Linked DNA regions of Homo sapiens: region 1 is linked to region 2. The links are contacts of gene promoters, found by promoter capture Hi-C in blood cells and fetal thymus (Javierre and others, 2016). All regions are on one chromosome and are shown on one strand. The core of a region is centred on a gene start or on the middle of the fragment in contact, and the rest is flanking DNA. Distances in the headings are between cores, read along the strand shown. Region 1 overlaps ANKRD50 (ankyrin repeat domain containing 50). Region 2 holds the start of CCNA2 (cyclin A2).

Evidence for each region. Contacts are between HindIII fragments. The CHiCAGO score rates a contact against its expected background, and 5 or more counts as called.
Region 1: a fragment that was not itself captured here is called in contact with the fragment with the promoter of CCNA2 in region 2 in 1 of 17 cell types (fetal thymus); the score reaches 5.7 in fetal thymus.

What each region holds. Positions count from the first base shown.
Region 1 is chr4:124,707,811-124,710,510 of GRCh38, forward strand. It overlaps ANKRD50 (ankyrin repeat domain containing 50), which reads right to left. Exons shown (of 5, transcript NM_020337.3): 2 at 2,190-2,700. Among named protein-coding and RNA genes, the nearest start is that of ANKRD50, 3.6 kb to the right of the region's middle. The HindIII fragment of the contact is 202 bases long and covers 1,347-1,548 here.
Region 2 is chr4:121,822,574-121,825,313 of GRCh38, forward strand. CCNA2 (cyclin A2) reads right to left here and starts at 1,310. Exons shown (of 8, transcript NM_001237.5): 1 at 843-1,310; 2 at 1-73. The coding sequence starts at 1,055. It overlaps BBS7 (Bardet-Biedl syndrome 7), which reads right to left. Exons shown (of 19, transcript NM_176824.3): 19 at 1,756-2,740. RefSeq lists enhancers at 849-898, 1,089-1,158. The HindIII fragment of the contact is 5,182 bases long and covers 1-2,233 here.

The DNA of each region.
Region 1 (2,700 bases), core at 198-2,697, 2.9 Mb after region 2:
TAACTGAGAATCACACAGGAAAAAGAAAAAATAAAAGAAACAATTGAATAAAAGAATTATTTTTCAGGAAAATCTATGATACCATAGAGAAAGCTATGCTTAGGATCAGAATATATCAAAAATACAGTAATCAGACATGATTTTTAAACATTCAACATTCAGGTATCAGAAATTTACATATGAATTTCAATAAATTATAAATTACATACCTTGGTTACATCAGATTAAGTTCACCTCAGACTAAGCTCTTTGAAAGTTATTGGTAGGTGTCAATAAACCTAAATAGCTTATGAAATTACTTATCACAAAGAAATGAAAATTCTGCTCTGCCACTAGTATCTTCAGAAAAAGCAGTAAGAAGAAAAGAGTTGCTTATGTACAGTTTTAATTCTATTAAAAGGTATAGTTTTATATTAAAGACTACATTATTTATTCTGTACAGTGATTCCATATTGAACACTCTCCATCAAACCTTGCATCTCACATGCCACAGGCATCAACTAACAGATTTCCTCATTAATTTAAGAATGATACAACAGTTTTAACGCTGACTTTGATGGCTAACAACAAAAGATAATAGATTTGCCTTTAGTTTTATTGGACTAAATTTACATATTAAAGAGTCTACAAGAATATCACACCTCTCAAAGATACATCCCTTTGGCTGACTTTAATAAATTCCTCCCATATTTGAATTCTGTACCATCCCTAACTCTCATTCTAGAATACCACTCCCTCTATCACTATATGGGTAATCTGAAAACCACACTCAAACCACACTGTGACACAACTCCTGTTCTCCAGCTTTGCCATACATAACCTTCTAAACCCCTCCTCTTCCCATCAAGTCCCCCAGAGAATTTCTAAGATTACTAACACATACACACACACACACACACACACACACACATACACACACACACATTTAAAATCTCAGCCCTGCCATTTACTAGTCTGTAACCTTGAACAATTTATTTAGCCTCTCTGTACCTTAGTTTCCTCATCTATAAAATGGGAGTAGTAACTACCTCACAGGATTATTATGAGGATTAAATGATCTAATATTTGTAAAGCACTTAGAATAATGACTGACACTTACTGTTTACTGTAATTACTATTAAATATTTTCAATATTACTTTCAAAATGTATAGATTTCACCCCATTAGATTTGAGGATATCATAAAAACAAACATCACTCTTTTTAGAGTGATTCAAATCTCTCCTAGAAACACACTCAAGCAGAAGAGAGCCACACACACACACACACACAAACCTCCAGTGCACAGTATACCAGAATCTTTGGAGAACAAACTTTTGCCCGCTAAGAATGTTATTGTAGAGAAAAAGCTTATGGCAAAATGGGTAATTCAAGCAGAAGTGAAGCACAAACTAACAATTTGCCTGCTACTTTTACAATGAGCAGAGGCATGATATGCAAAAAAAAATGTTTTCAAGGAATTATATTTTCTTGAACAGATTTGAATCTGAAACCACTCTGGAAAGCAACTTGCTCACTTCCTGGACCAATCCATTTACCATGGAAAAAAAGCTTTGCTGAAGTTAGGAAAAAACACTTTCTTTGTACCACTCACTAAAAGTAAAAGTAGTAAGATGATCCCAAATGTTCGCTATTTTATAAATTCACATACTTCTAAATACCAGTTTTTCAATTAGTTAGTTAATAGGAGAATAAATCCCAAAACTCATCAGCAAATTTTCTTCAGATTCTCAGTGGCCAATAATCTCCTTTAAAGAAAACCTTTCTTACTTAAAAAAATACTACTACTATAAGGAAAAAAATAAAAAGATACTAGATGCTATACTGATAATTACTCTAAGTTCAGTTCACCCTCTGAAAATGTAACCTATTTCCAGACAGCTAAATGTGCTTCTCTACCATAAGAACAAATTTCCCTTACCATTTATAGGCAATGTAAGTAACATTATGTTATTAAGTAAAATTAAGATACACTTTTAATCCATTTTAATCCATATGCTGTGCAATACCAAAACCTAAATTTTACTTCCTTTGATATTCAAAGTAAACAGGTATACTCATAACTTCAGATTAAGGCCAAATGTACAGCACCAGTAAAAGTAACCCACAAAGTTAAAACAAAAAACTACAACTAAAAATTAATTTAATTTCAGCATAGAAATCTGAACACCATGACATTTTTATTGTTACCTTTTAAATGCTTCGGCTGGGTTTCTCTCGCACTCCCCAGGCTGTAAGAGGCTTTGGACTGCTGGATCCCTTAGCTTGTCCTCATATCCTTGGAGTAGTCCACTGCGGCAGATCTGGGCTACTAGACCTCTAATAAACCCTCCAACACACAAAGTATCAGAGTCCTGGGCTTTGCAGAAATGAAAGGCCAAAGCTTGGCGATGTAAACCTCTCTGCAAACTTGCAGGTGAACTTGGCCATAAGAGTTCAGTACATAGGGCCGTCTTGCCACTGCCAGGCCCTCCTACCAACAACACACCCCAGGCAGCTCCCTTTCCAGAGACACCACTAGCATTATTCCCAGAATTCATTACAAGTGATGGTGCATTGACAGCACTATTGCAGCAGTTACTTTTCTCCTGGAGGCAATGCTGAAGCTTGTGGAAAACCCACTCCCTACAGTAAAACTGCTTCCCTTGCAGTAAACTGGTTTGAGCCATTTTGCAGACTTTCTCTTCCCAAGGATTAGTCA
Region 2 (2,740 bases), core at 60-2,559:
GTTTACTGTTTGCTTTCCAAGGAGGAACGGTGACATGCTCATCATTTACAGGAAGATCCTTAAGGGGTGCAACCTAAAAAAAAATTAATAACTGGCTTTGAGCCTACTAGTCTTGCATTCTTTCTCTTATGGGTGTTGGCCTTTGCTTTTTCTCCCAAATACTCTATCAGGAATTAAACTTTCTGGGACAAAGAAGAGTTTCAGTATTCAAAAGAGAAGGGATGTTCCCATTTGTCACAGGCATTCCCACAAAGGCTATCAATAGATAACACTAGGTGGAATTATGCAAAACTTATCAGGGCCACAAGAAGGGTCGGGTGACAGGCCAATACGTGACAAGTTTAGGAAAGACAGCAAAAAAATTGTTGGTTCACCACTGTCGCCCGAGGGTGGAGCAACAGAGCAAATCCGGCTAAAATGGCGGAATTTGCCAAAAGCAAAGTATTTTGTACACGCTTTTCTAAAGTAGAGGTCATCTCTTAAGCGTGAGGAGGATAGGGGTCAGAGTCCTACAGCAGTGCCTGGGGTTTAAAAGTGGAGAGAAAGGCGCGGAGCTGAGCGAAGACTACACGTTTTAGAGCTTGGTTTGACCCCATTATGTACAGGCAGATGCCCCCTATAGAGAGCAGACCGGCAGCATACACACAGTGTTGGCGGGGTCCTGATGCTAATATGGGAGAACTCCTACTGTGGCAAACCACACACCAGCACCAACTGCACTCCAGACCCTGGCCCCCTTCCAAAAGCCCAGGACATGCCTTCTCGCCACTCTTCTCTGCCTGCTAAGCCAATGCCAAACCCTGCTCGACCCACCCTCCTGCAGATATCCCGCATCCCTTTACCCGTCTCGTCTTCGGCCTCTGCTGCTGCGCTAGACCCCGCGGGTTCCCGGACTTCAGTACCGCCAGCGCGGCCCGGGTCCGCGGTTGTTGGACGGGCGCTGCCTTTTCCGGGTTGATATTCTCCTGGTCCTCTTGGAGCGCCGTCTGCTGCAATGCTAGCAGCGCCGAGCCCGCCTCGCGGGTCGCAGGCCCCGGCGCAGAGTTGCCCAACATCACTGCTCCCGGGAGTGGACGGCGGGATCAGCCTGCGGCGCCAAGCAGCGTGCACTCTGCCCAGCCGACCACTCGCACCGACCCGGCCAAAGAATAGTCGTAGCCGCCGGTCGCAGCCCAGGCCAGCCTACCAGCCCGCCCGCTCGCTCACCCAGCTCGAGACCACGCAGGGCCGAGGAGGTTGCGAAAGGCGCAGGCAGGCACTGCCCAGCGTGGCGAGCCAAAGACGCCCAGAGATGCAGCGAGCAGCCCGCCGGAGCGGCGGCTGTTCTTGCAGTTCAAGTATCCCGCGACTATTGAAATGGACCAATGAAAGCGCTCGCGGCCTTGACGTCATTCAAGGCGACAGGGTCGCAGGCGAGTGAAGGGTAAACCAAAGGAAACTGAGCAGGGGCGGGGCAGGAGGGAGAAACAAACTGGCTGGGGCGGGAGAAAACGCCTGCGCGGGGCGGGGAGAGGTAGGATTTAGGGCCCGACGCTTCCGATTATTTTAAGCTGAGCCACCTAGTGAGCGAGGCTGTCCGAAGGCTGACTCTAAGCCTTTTAGGGAATTAAACGGAATTAAACTTTGGCGACTATCATTTGGGTTGCCCAGCCTTTAGCTCTGGGACGTCTAGTTAGCTTAAGTGACTTTTTCCAAAGGTCTAAAATCTGGGGCACGTTTTTCAGTATCTCCGATTCTCCGTTTTCTTATGTGTTAATAGGGACTAATAACTACAGTCATATGGTTGTTAGGATTAAATAATGTGCATAAATTATTTAACACGGAGCTCACATAGTAATACAGTACTCAAGTGTCAAGACTGTAATGTCATCTTAACATTTAGGCGTTTATTCATAGTAACCAGAAATTGTGTTTTATGCTTTTTATTTTTCCTAATGAAGATGCAATTAATTTAAGATGGCACCTTGAACTACTGTTGATATATATAATAAATAGCAGTGCATTACAAAATATTCAAATACAGTCATTAATTTTTTTCTATTTTTCCCCAAGCTGTGGCAACCAACAAAAAACACAATGACGTTCTAGTGACCTAGATATAATTATGTTCCTTTCAGAAGTAAAGTTTTTTAAACATAGTAAAAACAATATGACCTTATTAAAATAAAACTCTCTTAACTATACGTGCCTTTAACAAATTTTTATATTTATATATAAATATAAGAATATACAAAGCTTGCACATAACTAATAAGTATAATAGCATATCATTAAGAAGCACTGTTTTCTAAAAAATTCGTGAGTCTGCCCTTCTTGAAACATAAAGCTTATTTTCCATTATCTGTATGCCATTTTAAAACCTTTCAATATTCCCTTGAAATTAATAAATATGAATTAAGATTAATGCACAAAACTTCTGTAGCCTTAATGTCATATATGATAAAAAGAGATCTAGAAGATACTAGTGTAGGAAAATCTAAGATGGCATCACTATTTCTGCACTCTTCACTTGAAGCACGCTGAATAGCTCCACTGGTTACAGCATGTCTAATTAAGATCCCCCGACTCTGTGTAAGCTCTTCTTATTTCCTGGCTACAATTTATAGCACTGAGCCAAGTCCAGCATTTCCACAAACTGCAGCAGAGTCATAAAACACTACCAAGCAAAAGGAATATCAGTTGCAAATCAATCCTATCTCCTAGAAAAAACAATTGGTAGGTTATTTCCACTAGCTGGCAAC